Linked DNA regions of Homo sapiens: all the other regions are linked to region 1. The links are contacts of gene promoters, found by promoter capture Hi-C in blood cells and fetal thymus (Javierre and others, 2016). All regions are on one chromosome and are shown on one strand. The core of a region is centred on a gene start or on the middle of the fragment in contact, and the rest is flanking DNA. Distances in the headings are between cores, read along the strand shown. Region 1 holds the start of PHOX2A (paired like homeobox 2A). Region 2 overlaps RNF121 (ring finger protein 121). Region 3 has its middle 43 kb from the start of CLPB. Region 4 has its middle 26 kb from the start of CLPB. Region 5 overlaps NUMA1 (nuclear mitotic apparatus protein 1). Region 6 overlaps CLPB (ClpB family mitochondrial disaggregase). Region 7 overlaps CLPB (ClpB family mitochondrial disaggregase).

Region 1 (2,828 bases), core at 101-2,600:
TTTTTTTTTTTTTGTATTTTTAATGGAGATGGGGTTTCACCATGTTGGTTAGGCTGGTCTTGAACTCTTGACCTCAAGTGATCCACCCGCCTTGGCCTCCCAAAGTGCTGGGATTACAGGCATGAGCCACCGCGCCTGGCCCTTAGGCCCCAGTCTTCTACTTGGGTCCCCGGCAGTCTTCCCAGGAGGGAAGGCGATAAGATTACATAGGGCAGGCTGGGACTCTAATCAGAGGGCTGAGATGACTGAGAAGCTCAGTGAGGTTGAGGGTTTGGACAGGGACTTGGATCTAAAGTCTTGGGGATGCAGGAGCTGCTTCCGGGTTCTACAGAACTCTAGCTGGGAGAGTCTGGGGGAATGGGGAAATACAAGTGGCTTAAAAACCCGGGCCCCTTTATTGCGGGCTACGGGATCTGGTTTTGGTGGCTACAGAAGGGTTCGGTCCCAGGCAGCGTGGGTCCAAGACAGGGCAGGAGGGGCCTGATGGCCACGCGAGCTCTAGGAAGCTTCCCGTCTGGGCAGCTCAGCTGCCTGGAGAGGTCCTTGCTGGGGGTCATGCATCTCGTGGGGCAGCGGTGATGGGGTGGGGTGATAAGTGGTGATAGGGCTGGGCTGGGAGCCTTTTTCAAAGATCCAGCGCTTGTAGAGGTTTAGTGGTCAGTCTTTGCAGGTGGTGAGGGGAAGGCCTGGTAAGGGGCCCAGAGCTGGATGGGGATATATTTCCTTGACCTGAAGGGCACGAGACAGAGATTTGGCAACGAGAAAAAGGAACAGGAGAGATGAGAGGGTGAGGCTCATTCCTGCGGAGGAGAACCTCGTATTCTGGGGGTCTCTCGGGGCATTGGAGGGTCTGGCCAAGGCAGGAATGGGGGCGGCTGAGGGGGACAGTCGCATTCACTTGGCGAGCGGGCCCAGGGATTCTGCAGGAATTGGAGGGAGGGTTGGGCCGGGGCTGCGCTCACCTGCCGAGTAGGGCGCGGGCTGGTGGTCGCGTAGGGCGCCAAGTGCGCAGTTGGAGGAGCCGAGCGCGGGGCAGGGCGGCCCTGCCGCGGGGAAAGCGGGCCGCAGGGGGCTGTATTGGAAGCCGCCGGGCTGGCTGCAGGCGCCAAAGTCGCCGTAGGCGGACGCCTCCATGGCCGCCACGCACGAGTCGTACGAATTGAGGTAGGAGTAGTCCATCGGCCCGGGGGGCGGGGGCGGGGGCCGGGCCAGGCCGGGTCGGGGTCGGGGTCCGGGTGGAGGTCGGAAGGGAGGTTCGAGCGCCAGGCTCCGAGGACCCGAGGCCAGCTCTGAGCGCCCGAGAGTCCGCCCGCCCCGTCGCGGCCGCACTCAGCCCGGGTGCAACGCAAGTGCAGCCAGCCCGGCCCGCGCGCCTTTTAACGCGCAGGACCCCGCGGAGGGGGGCGGGGCGGGGCGAGCTCCGAAGGGGCGGGGCCTAGGAGGCCCAGACACCGCCCAAAGCCGCCCCGACCCCCACCCCGAAGGGTCCCCGCCGCCGTCTTAGGGCTCAGAGGTGTGGAGCTGGGATGCGCGGGACCCTATCCCCGGAGTCCCTATCCTGCCCCAATCCGGACCAGACCTTCGGTCTCTACACAGCGTCCGAGGCCAGAGGGTCCCGACCCTTTTCCCGGGCCTCCCCACCTGCGGCCCCGCGGAAGGGAGGGGAGGCAGGCCTGGCGGCGCTCGTGTGAAGAAGTTAATTCAATTCGCTCTGATAACCGAGTTATTCCGATCTGGCCCCTCAGCCCCGCCCCCAGCGAGGTCCCATCCCGGCGGAGACTGCGGAGGCGGCCCAGGAAGGGGGATGGAGACCGGGAAGAGACGGAGCCTGGGATGGGGACAGGGAAGGGACGTGGATAGACAGAGGAAACAGAGACCGGGAGAGAAAGGGGCAGAAACAGTGATGGAGACAGGGACAAGAGATACAGGTACACAGAGGGAGACAAGGACGGAACATACACAGCGAAAGACAGGATGGAGCGGGGACAGGGCAGAGACAGGAGATGAGGGTAAGAGAGAGACAGGATGGAGCGGGGACAGGGCAGAGACAGGAGATGAGGTTAAGAGAGAGACAAGAGGAGACAGGGAGACAGGGGGACGAGAAAGAGAGTGAGGGAGGCATGGAGACAGAAGGGGTCGGGATGAGACATGGACGGCAACCAGGACTGCGGTGGAGAGCAAGGGAGGGATGAGACAAAACAGAGGCAGGAATCGTGAGACAGACACATATGCCCAGGGACAGTCTGAGAGAGACAGGGCCAGGGACAGCCACAAGCGCGGGAGCAGAGGCTGAGAGCGGAGAGAAAACGCCTCCGGGGAGCTTAGACACGAGGGCTGGAGCGCAGAGGGGCCCAGGGATGATGCTGGAGGCTCTGGGGTGCGGCCTCCACGGGGCTGCGGAGAGGGAGGGTCGTGGGAGCCAGGTCCCTCTACCCTGACTTGTCCCGAGGCCCACACGACCTTGCACCTTCAGGGCCCGCCTGCCTCTCCCCCCGTTCCCTCAGCTCCATCTGCAGTATGCGACCCTCTCCTGTGACCTTGGGCTCAGGATGCGATGGATGTCAGAAAGGGAACGTACCCCGTGACCTCTTTATTGTTCTTCAGTCTCTTACCCCTGTTCTCCAGGGCCCCCCGCTTTTTTTCTCCAGGGAAACCACCTAGACTCAGTCTGCACCTGGCCCAGACATCCCTGCACAGATTCAGTCACCAGCTCCCTCGTGCTGTGGGACAGCGGGACACATTCAGAATCCTTACCAAGAGAAGGGAACAGATAACTTTTCCGTCGCTCCTGAGCTGGGTTGGGCAGCTCGTCCACTCAACCCCCAGCC
Region 2 (2,828 bases), core at 101-2,600, 250 kb before region 1:
TAAGACCATTGCGGTTGTATGGCCAAGAAGTGCCTGGAGAAGTAGTGACTAGACTAGAAAAAAGCCTGTGGGCCAAATTAAAGATTTTGATTTTTATGCTAAAAATCCTGGGAGGGGCCGGGCACAGTGGCTCACTTTGGGAGGCTGAGGCAGGCAGATTGCTTGAGCCCAGGAGTTCAAGACCAGCCTGAGCACCATAGTGAGACCCCATCTCTACAAAAAAATGAGACAAAAAAAAAAAAAACCTAGCCGGGCGTGGTGGCACATGCCTGTAGTCCCAGCTACTTTGGAGACCAAGGTGGGAAGTCACTTGAGCCTTGCAGTGAGCTTGTTCATGCCACCAAACTCCAGCCTGGGCAACAGAGCAAGACGTTGTCTCTAAATAAGTAAAAATTCACAAAATGTATAATAATCATGCAAAGGCACAACAATAAATGATGGGGCACAAAAGTGCTTAGTCCATATTGGTAATTGTTTTTGAACTGCACAGTGGTAGGAGTTGCTCCTTACAATTTTTACTTTGTGAACTCTTATTCCTTGATTTAACCCACAGCCGCTACAACAACAGCCACTGTCACTTACTGCTTTACCAAAAATTGGGGAAGCTTTCATACTTGCTTTGTTAATCTTTAACTGTATGTGTAAAGCTACACATTTCATTTCAACATTTAATATTAAAAGTGTTTTGAGTCTTTACTTAAGAGACAATTTGGTGTCTCTTAAATAGAGGTTTAGTGATGTCTTTGTGACAGAAATATGACACAGGAACTGAACTCTTGTTTCTATCAATTAGCCTGTGGTAAAATTGGTTTTGTTATATGTCGTTTCATTTAAAGTCACAGTTTCCAAGAAACTGTCAGTGAAGTGAGGACATACTGTATTTGAGAAGTATTTTGGACTTAGATATAGTTTGGTTCTGAAGACTGAAGGGAAAAATACAAAGGAAATATAGGTTTCAAAGCTGAGATTTCTGATTCGGCAACTGCTTGGATGGTAGTACCTTTCACTGAGATAGGAAATGCTGCAAGAGCAGCAGGTGGACATCACGGAGAGATGCTTAAATATGGGTAAATTAACAGCCAATCTGAGAAACGCAAGTAAATATTTCTATTTTTTTTTTCAGAATGGAAATATATCTTTATTGTTTTGCTGTTTATAAAAGTAGTATGTTCTCTTTGTAATTATTTAAACAACACAGAAGTGCTCCCTGTCTCAGTGTCATCCCCCAAGACCCCACCCCAAGAAGGAATATTTCCATCACCTTGGGTAACTTTAATCTAGTACCGTTTAAGGCCAGGGACTTTGTCCCTCAGTATCATGGGAATATTCTAATTTTTTCTCTACTGGATCAAATTGAAAACAGTACATTGGATCACTTTATTGACAGTTTATTAGGTTCCTTTTTGAACAACTGTCTTGTGCTTTACCTTCATTTCCCTCTTACCTATTTGTGTAGACATTGGATCTTCCTTTAACCAGTTTACTCCCCAGAAGAGATTTCTAGACCATGTCACCATTTTGACCATTTTGAAGTATACAATTCATGCATTAATTACATTTGCAGTGTTCTGCAACATTTTCACTGTCTAATTCCAAAATTTTTCTTCATCCCAAACAGAAACTCTGCCCATTAAGCAGTAACTCATTACCCCTTCCCACAGCCCTGGTTTACCTCTAATATACTTTCCATCTCTGTGAACATGCCTATTGTAGATATTTCATGTAAATGGAATCATACAATATTTGTCCCTTTGGCTTTTTTCACTTAGCGTAGTGTTTTCAGAGTTCATCCATGTATAGAATGTATCATTCCTTTATATGGCTGAATAGTATTCCATTGTGTGTGACACCGCATTTGGTTTATTCATTCATCTGTGGATAGGCACTTGAGTTGTTTCCACTTTTTGGCTACTGTGAGTAACGCTGTGAGCACTGGCGTTTAAGTGTGTTTAGTCCCTAGTTTCATATCTTTTGGGTTTATACCGAGAATGGAATTGCTTGGTCATTTGGTAATTTTATGTTTAACTTTTTGAGGACATGCCAAACTCTTTGCTTTCTTAATTATGATAATGCTTAAGTGAATATCTGTATTCATGAAGCTTCTTTGACACTTCCTCTTTTTTTTTTTTTTTTTGAGATGGAGTCTCGGTCTGTTGCCCAGGCTGGAGTGCAGTGGTGCGATCTCGGCTCACTGCAAGCTCTGCCTCCCGGGTTCACGCCATTCTCCTGCCTCAGCCTCCTGAGTAGCTGGGACTACAGGCGCCCCCCACCATGCCTGGCTAATTTTTTGTATTTTTAGTAGAGACGGGGTTTCACTGTGTTAGTTAGGATGCTCTCGATCTCCTGACCTCGTGATCCGCCCTCCTTGGCCTCCCAAAGTGCTGGGGTTACAGGCGTCAGCCACCGCGCCCAGCCTCCTCTTATTTCTTTAAATTCCTTGAAGTGAAATTAATGGGTCAAAAGGTGCAACAATTTGAGATACCATGCTAAATCCTATCTGAAAGGCTTGAACCCCTTTTGCTGCTGCCACAAATGTCTGAGAATGCCCTTGTCACCAAACCAACATGGCACTTAATATTTCACTGTTTTAAATGTTGGAGAATATTGTTGTCCATTTCTGGTGGAACCATAGTCTGGCGACAGAATGGCTTGCCTGACACAGCTTTTGATCACCAGCCCCAAGTCCTTCTCCCTCCCCTTCCCCTTATCCTTTGGTGCTGATCCAGCCCAGTTTATAGGTTCTGTTACATCTAACTTCCCAACTGTCTCTAGTCTGGTCACTTCTCCCCATCTGCCCAGCAAAGATGAGGTCGATTTGACTTGTAAAA
Region 3 (2,828 bases), core at 227-2,726, 230 kb after region 1:
GGAATCTCTGGTGGTAACTGATTTAATAGGAACCCTTCCTTCATTGAGGACAGAAAGTGCTCTCATGGGAATAGATATGTTTCCAGAGTTTTTTTCCTTGTTCCTAATGCTTCTACCAGAACCATGTCATTTTTTTTTTTTTTTTTTGAGACAGGGTTTTGCTCTATCACCCAGGCTAGAGTGAAATGTTGTAATCATAGCTCACTGTAGCTTCCAATATGAGCCCTCCTGGCCTCAAGATATTCTCCCACCTTAGCCTCCAGAGTAGCGGGGACTACAGGCACATGCCACAATGCCTGGCTAACTTTTTAAATTTTTTATAGAGACAGGATCTTGCTGTGTTGCCCAGGCTGGTTCAAACTCCTTTCTTTTCATGGTTAGTGGTCAGAATGAGTAGAGACTAGCATTGAAGCTGGAAAAGCTGGAAAGCACGTGTGGATTGCCTCAAGCAATCCTCCTGCCTAGGCCTCTCACAGCCGTGGGATTACAGGCAGGAGCCACTGTACCCAGCCAAGAATGTCATCTTTACCAACATGGTATCCCATACATCTGACCAAGAGGCTAATTTTATAGTGGAAGAGGTGTGGCAACAGGCTCATACCATGAGATTTATGTTAACCTTAGGATATATGTTATCACCCAGAAACAGCTGGCTTGAGAGAATCACCTATGAAGGTCATGGTTACTGAGAGAATGACCTGCTGAAGGTCAGTTATGGTGCCAGCAGAAATACAGCACCCTAACAAATGGAAGAGCAGTACATTCTTTACATCAGCAACCAATATATGACATTATTTTCTCTACAGCAGGGACACACAAGCATAGAAAGGAGGAGGGTGGAGTAAGAGAGGCCCCTCTCATGAATGCATCTAATAATCCAGTTAAAGAATATTTGCTTCTTGTCCCCACTGTCTTATTCCTTGCAGGTTTAGAAGCCTTAGTTGCTAAGGGAGAAAATGCTTCCAATAGGGAACATAGTTGCAGACTCGTTAAGTTGGAAGCTAAGACTGCTCAGTTGCCATTTTGTTTTCCTCATGCCGCTGAGCCAATAGGCAGAGATGTGGGTTACTCTATCGGCTGGGATAACTAATTCTAATTATTAAGGGGAAAGTGAATTACTGGATGTTTTAGAACAACATAATTCCTAGAAACATTAAGGAGAAACTCTAATTTTTAGTCATCTTCAGTATATCAATTATTTTATTTTAAACTTTTTTTTGTGTGTGTGGAGACTGCGTCTTGCCATCTTGCCCAGGCTGGTCTCAAACTCCTGGCCTCAAGCTATCCTCCTGCTTCAGCCTCCCAAAGTGCTAAAATTACAGGCATGGACCACCATACCTGGCCCAGTTATTTTATTTTAAGTATGACTTGACAATCTAGGGACATGTGGTTTAACATGAAATGTGAGAAGTTGGAATTCTTTTCTAACCTTTGGTCTGGGGAAGGACCTTGAAAGGTTAGTCTAGCCTAGGGATAAAAGCAGAAAACTCAACCTTTTTATGGGTTACATGGGAAAGGTATCAGGGGAGTGGACAGGCTCAGTTTATGATCACTCTCTGAAATGACGAAGACTTCTCAAATAAAAGAAGTTCAAAAATGGAGTCACAGCTGGGCTTGGTGGCTCACGCCTCTAATTCCAATAACTGAAGAGGCTGAAGGAGGGCGGGTTGCTTGAGGCCCGGAGATTGAGGCCAGTTTGGGCAACATAGCAAAACCCCACCTCGCTTAAATCTCTCTTAAAAAAAAATTCCAGCCACTTAGCCAGGCTTGATGGTGCGTGCCTGTAGTTCCAGCTACTCAGAAGTCTGAGGTGGGAGGATTGCTTGAGCCCAGGAGTTCAAGGCTACCGTGAACCATGATCGGACCACTGCACTCCAGTCTGGGTGACAGAGCAAGACCCCGACTCTAAAAATAACAAAATAAAAATTTAAAAATGGAGTCAGATCAAGGAGAACTCAAAGACAGCAAAGAGGCTTACTACAGATACTCACTCTTATCCTGCTGGCCCTGTCGACCATTCTCAGGTTCTGCCGTGCTCCAGATTCTGGCAGAATTAGGTCAGACGGCGGTGGAATATAGGACTGCAGACTTAAAGATGATAATAACATTCCATCGTTTAATAAAAATAGCTCCATGCTGGAAGAAATGGAAAACACGCACCATTGAGAAATTTTCTGTTGGAACTTACCTAAGATGGAAGGTGTCCAGGATGCAGACGTAAATGCAAGTCTGGAGTTCTGGACCCTACACTGGTGGTTGATGGTCGTTAGCACAGAAATAAGGCAACAACAATGAAGTTAGTGCTCAGGCCTCACTTTCACGGTCTTATGTGAAGTCTTTGTTCAACTACTAGATGACATCAATTTTAGACATGACAGATCACCTTTTGACTCCAATTTGGTGGCTAATAGTACAGGTAATATTTACTACCTCTGGACCCTCATCCTACTGACAGCTACTCCTTCATATTTTATAAAACAAGAAGACCCTGGAGTGGAGCTATGATGAGGGTCTGTTAGAGATGGTGGATTATAAATAAGAATCACAATTTTTCAGCCAGGCACGGTGGCTCACACCTGTAATCCCAGCACTTTGAGAGGCTGAAGTGGGTGGATCCTTTGAGCTCCGGATTTAAGACCAGCCTGGGCAACATGGCAAAACCCGTTGCTACCAAAAATACAAAAATTAGCTGGGCGTGGTGGCACGCCTGTGGTCTCAGCTACATGGGACACTGAGGCAGGAGGATTGATTGAGCCCGGGAGGTTGAGGCTGCAGTGAGCTGAGATCACACCACTGCACTCCAGCCTGGGCAACAGAGCAAGACCCTG
Region 4 (2,828 bases), core at 183-2,682, 220 kb after region 1:
TCTTGAAGAACTGGGTTTTAAATTTTCTTCTTGAGAAAAAGTGAGAGCATCATTTTTTTTCTCATGCAAGATTCAGAAATGAATGGGTCTGAGCAGATCTATGTGGTGCAATGCATGGATGTGCAAGATCCAGTTTCTTTGCACCCCAAATGTGTTGAGCCTGACTTTTCCGCTCCTCTTCCCCAGGGCCTGAGCCTCTTGCCCTATTTTCTGGCTGGATTGGCCCTGGGGATGGCTCATTTCATTCCAGTGGTCATCGCCGTGGCTCTGGTTGCCTCAGCGGAACCTCAGGGTTGGACAAGGCTTCAGCACAGCTTCTGTCACAGCCACTGCCATAGGAGCTGTGGCAGCTTCGATACCACGTCTCACCTGACTGGGTCCATGGAGGCTCTGGCTTCCCCTGTGACTTCCCAGAGTGGTCAATACACAACCTGCAAATCGTAGGGAATTAAAGCTCCATGGGGATGATTTTGACCAAGGAGAAGAATGCCAGAAGGCTTGAGAAGGAGTTGAATAACCTCTGCGTGCCCCTGCTGAATTGGGTTTAGACGCCGTGGTCCTCTGGCCTCTCTGGAGGAGCCCTGTGAGCCCCGCGGTTGGATATTCTTGGAAGATGTTGCCAGCTCTACAGCACACTTTGTGGTTGCTCTCCTGACTTTCCTGCCTGACTGCTCCTTTCCCTCATTCTTGCTTCTTTCTCAGTAAAGCATCAGCACATTTGCTTTGCTTCAGGCTGACTCTGTGTTCCAGGGACCCTGGCCTAGGAAAGAGGTGTGTTCAGAGCATGGGATATTTGAAACTGAACTAGTGATGGGATTGAGGTGATTGTTATGACAAGACTTAAAATATGACCATGGAAGACAATCGCTTAGGTAGAATGGATGACCAGTTCGTTGGAGAAGAGAATATCATGGAATCTAGAGTCCAGGTTCCTGGAATAATCATCCATGTGGGTATGGAAATCTCTAGGAATGTTGGTGAGGATGATCCAGGAGCTAAACTCTTCAAAGCATGGGGGAAGGTGGCAGAGATGCCTGCAGACAGAGGGACTGTGGATTGTGGATACTGAGTCTGAAAGAGAGGGCATCTGGGATTAGCAACGGGGAACGAGGAGAACATCTAACTACCCCCCAGGCCCAGTAATAGAAGGGCTGTGGGAGGGCAAGCAACCACCTCTGAAGAGGACAGCAAAGAAAGAAGTATCCTTAGAGCATGAGGATGAAGAGAACATTTTGGAAAGAGAGTTAGGGTGCAGAATGTTCTGCTGATGAATAACTTTGAGCTCCAGAGTGCACGGTGGAAAGGTTTCAGGAGATGAGGAGCTATGGAAGATGGGGTTGAAAGGTAGTGCACAAGCTGAATGGGGATTAGAGGTGGGGAATGAGGAATGATGCGGTGGCTACAAGCACAAGACTAAAGGGCCTAGTAAGATTCATCCTGACAGTCCCCAGGTAGAGTGACAGAGCAGCTGCAAGTGTTCAGGGAAGCGGGAGTGTGAGCTCTTGTCCAGAGTGTGCCCATTCAGGGGTTCCCACTCAGCCTTGCTGAGAGAGGAGGGGGGGTCCTGCAGGCATGGGGGATGTGTCCTGTTCTGAATGCACAAGCTCCTCCTTCCTCCCTGAAGGATGTCTCACTCAGTTAGGCTGGGATGTCTTCTTTTTCGTTGTCTTTTGGTTGTATGTTTTGCAGGGGACTGTTCTTCTTTGCTTGCACTTGGTACATGTCTACTTATTTCTAAGACACCATTACACTTAGACAAACTTTCATGTTCTTCTATTTTTCTTTTCATTCCCTCACCTATTTTACATAACTCTTTGATTCTCTATCTTCTTATGAAAAAGAGACTATTTTTAATTTCTTGACATTTCTCCTATTCTCTTTTGCTGTGACACCAACTCCTTCTTTTACCTTAACTGACTTTGCACTTGTTTGAGCTCGTTCAGCCTGACACTGCCAGCCCAGACGGTTTCCCACTTCTTCCAAGAGATATGCAAACCTCCCTCCTCCTTTGAGCCCACTCTTCAGAAGGATTTGGTGACCTGTACACAATAACCTGAGTTTACTGGCTTTGTGCTTTTTATTACTATTAATTAATCTTGATATCTTCCCTTCTTCCATCACAGTAGACTTCCTCTCTGTTCAGTATTGCCTAGCTAATATTTCTCCACCTTTTACTTACATTTTCCATCTTCCATAGCATTGCCCTTATCCACAAAATTACCCTCACTTTCTACAAGTATACCCCCACCTTCTACAAGTACACTCTTACTTTAAAAAATACTTTTGGCCAGGCGCGGTGGCTCACGCCTGTAATCCCAGCACTTTGAGAGGCCAAGGCAGGCGGATCCCCTGAGGTCAGGAGTTCGAGACCAGCCTGGCCAACATGGTGAAGCCCTGTCTCTACTAAAAATACAAAAAAATTAGCCGGTTGTGCTGGCGTGAGCCTGTAGTCCCAGCTACTTGGGATGCTGAGGCAAGAGAATCACTTGAACCTGGGAGGTGGAGATACAGGTTGCAGTGAGCCGAGATCACGCCATTGCACTCCAGTCTGGGTGACAGAGCGAGACTCTGTCTCAAACAAAACAAAACAAAACAAAACAAAAAAGCAGTGCATGGTGGCTCACGCCTGTAATCCCAACACTTTGGGAGGCCGAGGAGGGTGGATCATGAGGTCAAGAGATTGAGACCATCCTGAACAACATAATGAAACCCCGTCTCTACTAAAAATACAAAAAATAGCTGGGCGTGGTGGCATGTGCCTGTAATCCCAGCTACTCGGGAGGCTGATGCAGGAGAATTGCTTGAACCAGAGAGTCAGAGGTTGCAGT
Region 5 (2,828 bases), core at 116-2,615, 200 kb before region 1:
CCCTTGGCCTGGGTGCCAGCTCCTTTGAGACTGCCTCTTAGCCACTTACTGCCCATCAAGGGAACACCAGACCTACCTCAAGATAACACCAAAGTGACCTTTGGTCCCAGAGAGTTGTTAAACTATACCGATCTCTCAGCTCATGGGCCCTTGCTTCTGCTGAACCCTCATTCTCTTAGTGCTAACTCCCACTCCCAGAATTTCAGGGCCCAAAGCCCACACAAGCTCCCACCTCAAAGGGTCCTTCCCAGAACCCCACCCCCTTCTCCACCTGATAGTTCCAAAGGCCTACAGCCTCACAGCTCACAAAGGAAATGGCTGCCCCATCTGTGCGCCAGTGCTCACTTGCAAAATTTACCACCACTTACCCTGAGACGCTGCCTGCCTGTAGCCTAAGAATTCCATGCTCTGTACCCCTTTCTTAGAAAGATACTCCCCATCTGAGAGACACTCACATCCAAAGAGTGAAAACCCTGATCTTGGGGCTCCTCCTCCTCCAACTCTAGGACGGATAGGCCAGGAGGCACATGCAAGCAAACACCGAGATCTCACCTGGCAGGTTACCCAGAGGGGCCAAGCCACCTTGCCCTAGGCTAATAAGCTATAAAAACAGCATAGGAAATACTTTGCTGGTACATCCCCTGCCTCTGAGAAGATAAAAGGCAAGAGGACCAGTGGCTCCAAGAGACGCCATACAGAGAAAAACAATCTTTCTCAATTCCTGGGGAGTCCTGGGTAGACCGTCTGGTCCAAGTCCAAAGAGTTTCCTGAGGTCGGGGCAAACCAGTTTGGTCCATCTAAAGGGACTAGCTTGGGCTGAAGCCTCCTCTTCACACAGACCACTCCATCTTTGTAGCCTAGAGTTTGGCACAGAACCCCAAAGCCCTGGAGAGGAACAAGGGAGGGATTACAGAGGAAACCAAGCTTCTCTGGTTTCTTCAAAAGTGGCTTACAGATGTCTGCCCCTTCTCCCCGTTCTCTGGAGGGTCCAGATCAGGATGATGGCAAAAGAGCTGCAATCAGGAACCAGACCTGCAACCAGGCCTGCAGCCATGTATTGTACTGGGGCGCGTACACATACACACACACACACACACACACACACACACACACACACACACACACACACACACACACACACACACTGACCTGGGCCCCCCACCACTATATTCACACACCCTGGTCCCTATCAGCTGACAAAATGAACCTTTTTTCACTGCCCACCACCGTGCACACACCCACGGCCTCACGCAGAAATGGTGAAGCCCTCTCCTGAGCTGTCTCTACAGCTCAACGTGCAGGCAAACACGCTTTCCTTCTCTGAACAAAAACATGCTGACATCTACGCAAGGGGGAAAGAAAGCAACCCTTTGCTCTGAAAGGCGCCAACTCCCGGATGTTGGCAAGCTCTGCTCCACAGCGCCTGTTTCTGAGTATGTTTACTTGCTCTCCCTCTTCTCTCCCTCCCCTTTAAGGATGGCGCAGGAAAGGGAGGTGAGGGGGGAGAATCCACCCCACCCCCTCGTCCATGTTTGAACAAAAACCCAGAGAAAGAGTGAGGGAGAAAAAGTCTCGGTGCGGGGGGGCCTTACCAGACTCCTAAAGCCAAACGTATCTACAGGTTTTAATCCGCCATTAGCATTTAAATCTTGAAAGGAGAGGAGGAAGGGGGGGCCAGTGGAAAGTAACCCCACACACAAAAGAAAAGTTGTTGGTTTTCTTCTCAGTCTGCCTGGCAGGAGCGATCTTCCTGGCTGACAGCCAGAAGTGCGTCACAGCCAGGAGTCTGCTTTCTTTAAAGGCACAGCAAGCTTCCCCGATCTGGGAGCGACAGCAAGCAGGGGACTCTCAGTGGGGGTGGGGCCCAGAGGGAGGGGGTGCACTGGAGAGGAGGGGCTGCAAAGGGGAAGGCTGGAGGCTTGGTCCACGAACAAGAAAAGCAGGACGAATGGGGGCGGCGGGTTGAGGGTGAAGGCACAAGCAGGCAGGCAAAATTACTGAACTCCAACAGCAGCAAGAGCCAAGGCAAACTGTGGCATAAACACACAAAACACATCTTACAGTGGCCTGCCTGACAAACTGGGATCAACCGGACACTCCCCCTTCGCTCTGTTTTCCACCCAGAGTTTAAGGCAGCAGTAATAATCTGTCCATCTCTCTGGACAGCAATGGAAGGGTAGGACAAGGGCTGTCCTGATAATTAGATCAGCCCCTGCCTGGCGGACCGCAGGGCAAGGAGGAAGACCCGGGAACAGAGGCTTTGAAGAACAAGCAACATGCAGGCCCTCTGATCGGGGGCACCTTCCTGCCGGCCCCAGGGCAGGCTGTGTCTTTAAGTACAACCATGCCACTCACACACAAAGCGCCCTGCCACCTTCCATGGGCACCGCCTGCCCTGCTCTGGGACACGGCCACCCACTAAATCCATTCCCCGAGGGAATCTCTCCAGCCCATACCTTCTGCGTGGCAAGGCCAGGATGCCGTGCTGTGCCCGCTCCTCCCCCTCCGCCACCCAAACAAGAAGCCCAGGCAGATTCTGGCCCTGGAGTACAGGCCTGCGCTGTCCTGTGCTGCGTGCTATTGTCGGCTGTGGAATGGCCGCCAAAATCCCAGCTGTGCTGCCAGAACCTAATCCCCTGTTCCGCTGAGCATTTATGGGGAGGGGCTGAGGGGCCAAGGCACGAGACCGAGTACGCCAGGCACTGGCTGCAGCCCTTAACAGACGCAGGCACGGGGACTTGTAGACTCTGCTTCTCCTACATGGCTGAAAACAAAAGATGTCTGACTCTTAGAAGACAAAATCACAGCATTTCCCCCCACTGAATAGC
Region 6 (2,828 bases), core at 212-2,711, 150 kb after region 1:
CCATGTTCTTGGGTTCCCTGCCGGTTGCTTCTACGAGCACATCTCTGCTTTCCACCTTTGTGAGCCTATGCTCACAATGGTCCTTCTGCAAATGCTCTCCCCCTACTCCCTATGTTACCAATCAAATCCTGCCCAACTCCTCTGAAAGGGCCTCTTTTCATGATGCTGGCTCTACACAGCATCATCTCCTCCACAGCACTCTATGTGTTCTTCTCTGTGGCACTGAACACATTCTGCCTCATTCTCCAAAGCGGGACTTTTATCCCTTTTCTGAGTGTCAGCTTTCTGAGAACAAGGAGAGTGGCTTGTCTGTTTTTACAGTTCTCAAAATCCATATAATACATCATGGGTCATCAAGAAACCCTGATAGAGCCGACTTGACTCCTGGTTCCAGCATCCTTCGGTCCATCCCATGGCCTTGCTCCCGGCCCCTTCCCTCCATAGGCAGTGTAGTCCAGTGGAAAGAGCAAGGGTTTGGGGTTCAGAAAGACCCAGCTTCAAATCCTGGCTCCTTCTTTTACTAGCTGGACAACCTTGGACAACTCTGAGCTTCATTTTCCCTATCTGTAAAATAGGAATAATAATCCCTTCCTTTCAAGATTGCCCTGAGGATTAGACCCAACATGGGAAGTGCTTGACATGGGCCTGGCACACAGAAAGCACCCAATCAACTACTGCCATCATCATTACTACAGTCAGGAGATCACACAGCACAAAGCCCAGCCTCCTTGGGCAGAAGGTAGCCCTACTCTACAGCACGAAGCCAGACCAAGAATAGGTTAGAAGACGGAAAAGGCTCTGTGCCCCTAAGGCAGGACCGACTTCCATGTGGTTGGTCAGGTTCCCTAAGGACCTACTTTCAAGCACAGGTACACTGGTACTCTACCTGCTCCACGTATAGCTAGCCAGGAAGGAAGCAGAGCCTCCCAGGGAGGCTGCCAGTAGTCTAGCTGCAAGATTAGCATCTGCTCTTCGCTCTAAGAACACCCATGGAGCTGTTGGGGTCCACAAAGGAAGGCCTTTAAAACCTCTTCTGTAGGACAGCAATCTGGCTTAGGCTATCGGTTTTTTAAAGAAAGGGTTTAATGCACCCTCTCCCCTTAGTAAGGCAGAGGGAAAATAAGCAAATGCTAAAAATAAATGACTGCTGTGAGAGGGAATTGAATGGTCTTCAGCCAAGGATGGCAGCACTTTAAAATTAACAAAGCCCGGGTACCACATCCAGGAAGGCCTTGGCAAATGCGTGTTATCCACTCATTAGCTCAGTTCCTCGGGGACCCTGGCCAAGCAGGGAAGGCAGTGCCGGGAACCAGTCCTTCCGACACTGATGAAATGCACTCGGGGAGAAAAGGCAGAAGGAGGGAGGGAGACTCTTGTGGGGAATTTCAAACAGTTCTGATGTGCTTCATGCTCTGCCTTGCAGTTCTCACCTTCTCCGAGGCAAAGGCTTGCAAAAGCCACCACCAAGCCCAAGCAGGATGAAATCAAAATCTCCCCACACCAGCCTCCCTTTTCAGGATCTTTGGTTCCTGAAGCACCACAACGGCCTCACTATATAGGTGGTGTCCCTGCATGAGAGTCCAGAGATAAGGAACCCAAGAATAGTGTGGGAGAGGCAAGCTCCCAGTCTGTAACCTCAACTTTCTCCTTGCTGGAATGAAGAATCATATACTTTATGAATTTATACAAGTCCACTGTACACTACTCATAAAGTGAATTTATCACTATTCATCAGTAATTATACTTCATTACATCACTGATAGTATGAATTGACAAATCTTCATTCCCTACTAAAAATCAGAATGCATATCACTCTAATGTGAGATATCATCAACAATAAGAATTCAAAACATTCCAGGTGACCATTAACAATATGAATTAATTTTGATACTACTAATACAAATTCTCAGTATGCCACTGGTCACAATTAATAATGAAAATTAGAGAGGGATGACAGCTTTTTAAAAAGTGTTTAAAGTCAGTTTACTGAAGTATCACATTTACACAGAGTAAAATTCATCCTTTTTAAGATATATAATTTAATGAATTTTGATAATTATATACATTCATGTAACCAGCATGATAATCAGGATACAGAATATTTCTCCATCATCCCAAAAAGTTCCTTTATATTCTCTTCCCATTCCCAAACACTGGCAACCACCAATCTGATTTCTGCCCCTAAAGTTCTGTCTTCTCCAGAATGTCATATACATGGAATTACAGAGCAGGTAGCTTTTTGTGTTGGTTTTAGCTTAGCATGGTGCTTTTGTTGTTGTCATTGTTTGTTTGGCTGTTTTTACCGTATGGATATACCACAATTTGTTGGTCCATTCACCAGTTGATGGACATTGCATTATATCCAGTTTTTGGTGGTCATGAATAAAGCTGCTATAAATATTTACATACAGGTATTTTTGCAGACGTACATTTTTATTTCTCTTAGACAAATACCTAGGAGTTGCTATTGCTCTGTGGTATGGTAAATGTATACTTTACCTTTATAAGAAACTGCCAAAGTGTTTTCCAATGTGGCTATACCATTATGCATTCCTATCAGTGATGTATCAATATTGTTCTGTATCCTTGTCAGCCCTTAGTATTGTCAGTTTTCCTAAATTTTAGCTACTGTAGCAGGTATGTAGTGGTATCTCATTGTGACTTGAATTTGCACTGAGTATGTTTTCATGTGCTTATTTGCCACCCATCTCTTTTTCGATGAAGCATCTGCTAAAATATTTTGCCCATTTAAAAAAATTAGATTTTTTTTATTATTGATTTGTAAGACTTCTTTATATGTTCTGGGTACTACTGCTTTATAAGATACA
Region 7 (2,828 bases), core at 228-2,727, 130 kb after region 1:
TAGAGACTAGCCTGGCCAACATGGTGAAACTCCATCTCTACTAAAAGTATTAGTAAAATAAAAATAAAAATTAGCCGGGCGTGGTGGTGGCGCCAGTAATCCCAGCTACTTGGGAGGCTGAGGCAGGAGAATCGCCTGAACCCAGGAGGCAGAGGTTGCAGTGAGCCGAGATCATGTCATTGCACTCCAGTCTGGGTAACAAGAGCGAAACTCTGTCTCAAAAAAAAAAAAAAAAAAAAAAGAACATTACTTGCTCTGATAGTGAGCCTAGAGCTTCTAAACATTAGAAATCACATGGCTGACAGGGGCACCGGAGGCCAGATAATCCAATGACCCATGGCGAGAATCCCCTTTACAGAATCCATGATGGGCAGACATCTCAGCTGTTAGTACCCCTTGAGTGGTGAGTTGCTCAATACCTCCTAGGCAGGCTTCCTGCTTTACACTTTGCCAAAACCCACCTCCATAGAGAAATTCTTTATTAAATGTCACTGTGCTTTAAATATATATGATTATCTCTAATCATCCTAACAACCCTATAAGATGGGTATTGTTTTTACTATGTTACAGATGAGAAAATTGAAATTCAGAGACTTTAAGTCATTTACTCAAGATCACACATCTAGTAATAGAGCTTAGATGAATCATTCAGATATCTGGTACTGAAGCCCAATCTTTCTCTAGGACACCAATGTGCCTCTGAAGATGCCACTCTGAGGGCTGGAGGGAAAGCAAAGAACAATCAGGCCAACAAGATTTCCATACCAAGCATCCTTGGGTTACCTGAACCAGTAAGACTGCCCTCTACCCAGAAACACCAACTTTGACAAAAGTGGACCCAGCTAAGTAGGCTTCTTGCTAAAGAGCAAATGCTCACATGACATGGGAGAAGAGTGTCACTAGGAATGGCATAACCAAAGATAAAGTCTCAGCAAGGATGGCAAAGAAGTTTCTTTCCTCCCTAGGCTGTGTCTGTTCTCAGCAGGTAAAACAGATACAAAGCATCTTTGATACCTTTTAGTTTTCTTGCCTGGATCCTTTTTCCTGCTCACACCTTAAATGCTGGTATCCTGAGTAAAGGACTTGTCCTCCTACCACCCCCTCACTTTAAATCCTTTCTTTGGGCAATTTTGGTTACATCTATTGTTTTAACTCCCAAGGAAATGGAAAATACTCCTAAATCCCTATCTCCTGCCAAACTACTCCTTTGAGCTCTCCAGACCCACATATCTAACTATTCACTCAAATTGGAAACTGAGGTGTCACCATGCATACCTCCTTTTCCATCAATTCTCACAATCCACTGAGTACTCAATCTTCTAATATTCTGCTAATATCTATTTACTCTATTCCCAAAGATCACCTTTAGGAATCTCCAGATATTTTAAATGTTTTTTTGGAGGACAGGAGCATAGCTTCTTACAGATTCCCAAAGGAGTCCATTATCCCTAAAAAGTCAAGAACCATTGCTAATCTTTCCCCTCCAATTCCTCCTCCACCCTGTCAGAATGGTCCATCTAAAATGCAAGTGTGAATTCGACATTGCCCTGCTTAAAATCCTTTAACGGCCTTCAGAATAGAGAATGAGCTCCCTAGAACTGCCTTACAAGGTCCTTCCTATGTGTAGCCTTCTTCACTCTCCGGCCTTATTTCTTGTTATTCTCCTCAATCCTGCAGCAGATGGTTCCACCTGCTGTCACTCCCTAACCCCCACCCAACGCCTCTGCATAGACTGTTCCCTCTGCCTGGAAGGTCCATCCCTTTTAGCCTTCCTGGCAATCTCCAACTCATCCTTAAGACCCAATTCAAGGTCACTTACCCTGTGACACTTCCCAGACACCAGCCTGCTCACTTCTCAGGTAGAGCTCACCAATACTTACAGCAGTGCTGCCTACATACTTTGTGCAGCTACCATTGCATTTATCACTCTGCGTTGTGATTCCTTGTTTACAGGCTTGTCTCTGTAAATGACTGGGAGCACTGATGAGGGGCTAGACTATGTATAATCATTTATATAATCCCAGCAACTGGCAGAGTGCCTGATACTCGGTAAGAACACGCTGAATTATGCATAAATGAAACTAATAAGCAATTACAACTGTAGAGCACTTTACAATCCACATATCACATATTTTATCTCTTGATATTCACAACAATACTGATACGGAAGAAAAGGAATGTATCATTGGAGGTTAGAGAGGTCTTGCCAAAGCCACAAACTACACCTTCCTTCCAAGGGCCACAGAAATATCTATTAGAAATTTAGTGGACTTCATGGACTTGGCAGTGACTCCATAGTCTAATATAACAGCAAAGGACTGCCCAACTTTCCTGAGCTTGTGAACTTCCTGTGAATTTGCCTAGACACACTCGAAGGAAAGGGAATTACATCTCTTGTTTTACTCTACCTTCCTTACCCATCCCTACAAGTCAGGTAATTTTTCATGCAAAAGTCAATGCAATACAAAAATAAGAGAACTACAGGATTCTTTTGTTTCTATTTCATCCATGAGAATGAGTCAGAGCTGGGTATGGTGCCTTGCATACAATTGGCAGTCAATATATATTGGTTGAATGGCTTAAAAAATGAGGTTTCCTTAAACGGAAAAAGGAAAGACATGGTTAAGACGAAGCTAAAGGCTTAGGCTGATGAGAGAGAAGAGCCCTGAGAAGATTCTAAAAGACTATCACTATCCAGGTCCAAGTCGGAACGTTCAGTGCACCAAGTTGGACAGCAGAGCACATCCAAACTGATACACCCAGGAAAATAAAGCCAGCTGCCAGAAAACTGTGGCAGACAAAGGTAGTCTAGAATTATTTAAAAAAAA

What was found. Contacts are between HindIII fragments. The CHiCAGO score rates a contact against its expected background, and 5 or more counts as called.
Region 2: a contact is called between a fragment that was not itself captured here and the fragment with the promoter of PHOX2A in region 1, in 2 of 17 cell types (megakaryocytes and erythroblasts). The highest score is 6.1, in megakaryocytes.
Region 3: a fragment that was not itself captured here is called in contact with the fragment with the promoter of PHOX2A in region 1 in 1 of 17 cell types (M0 macrophages); the score reaches 5.1 in M0 macrophages.
Region 4: a fragment that was not itself captured here is called in contact with the fragment with the promoter of PHOX2A in region 1 in 3 of 17 cell types (M1 macrophages, M0 macrophages and M2 macrophages); the score reaches 8.0 in M1 macrophages.
Region 5: a contact is called between a fragment that was not itself captured here and the fragment with the promoter of PHOX2A in region 1, in 2 of 17 cell types (M1 macrophages and M0 macrophages). The highest score is 5.4, in M1 macrophages.
Region 6: a fragment that was not itself captured here is called in contact with the fragment with the promoter of PHOX2A in region 1 in 6 of 17 cell types (M1 macrophages, M2 macrophages, M0 macrophages and 3 more); the score reaches 11.4 in M1 macrophages.
Region 7: a contact is called between a fragment that was not itself captured here and the fragment with the promoter of PHOX2A in region 1, in 3 of 17 cell types (M1 macrophages, M0 macrophages and M2 macrophages). The highest score is 6.2, in M1 macrophages.

What each region holds. Positions count from the first base shown.
Region 1 is chr11:72,242,826-72,245,653 of GRCh38, forward strand. PHOX2A (paired like homeobox 2A) reads right to left here and starts at 1,351. Exons shown (of 3, transcript NM_005169.4): 1 at 963-1,351. The coding sequence starts at 1,179. The HindIII fragment of the contact is 4,541 bases long and covers 505-2,828 here.
Region 2 is chr11:71,991,725-71,994,552 of GRCh38, forward strand. The region is part of intron 6 of RNF121 (ring finger protein 121); the gene reads left to right. Among named protein-coding and RNA genes, the nearest start is that of IL18BP, 5.8 kb to the right of the region's middle. RefSeq lists an enhancer at 13-72. The HindIII fragment of the contact is 1,494 bases long and covers 604-2,097 here.
Region 3 is chr11:72,475,823-72,478,650 of GRCh38, forward strand. It overlaps the pseudogene ART2BP. Among named protein-coding and RNA genes, the nearest start is that of CLPB, 43 kb to the left of the region's middle. The HindIII fragment of the contact is 3,151 bases long and covers 1-2,828 here.
Region 4 is chr11:72,458,797-72,461,624 of GRCh38, forward strand. No RefSeq gene overlaps it. Among named protein-coding and RNA genes, the nearest start is that of CLPB, 26 kb to the left of the region's middle. The HindIII fragment of the contact is 9,489 bases long and covers 1-2,828 here.
Region 5 is chr11:72,039,367-72,042,194 of GRCh38, forward strand. The region is part of intron 2 of NUMA1 (nuclear mitotic apparatus protein 1); the gene reads right to left. Among named protein-coding and RNA genes, the nearest start is that of NUMA1-AS1, 26 kb to the left of the region's middle. RefSeq lists enhancers at 867-946, 1,427-2,212, 2,213-2,828, 2,447-2,496, 2,587-2,666. The HindIII fragment of the contact is 887 bases long and covers 923-1,809 here.
Region 6 is chr11:72,394,934-72,397,761 of GRCh38, forward strand. All of the region lies in intron 3 of CLPB (ClpB family mitochondrial disaggregase), which reads right to left. Among named protein-coding and RNA genes, the nearest start is that of CLPB, 38 kb to the right of the region's middle. The HindIII fragment of the contact is 4,933 bases long and covers 1-2,828 here.
Region 7 is chr11:72,373,742-72,376,569 of GRCh38, forward strand. All of the region lies in intron 4 of CLPB (ClpB family mitochondrial disaggregase), which reads right to left. Among named protein-coding and RNA genes, the nearest start is that of CLPB, 59 kb to the right of the region's middle. The HindIII fragment of the contact is 5,465 bases long and covers 1-2,828 here.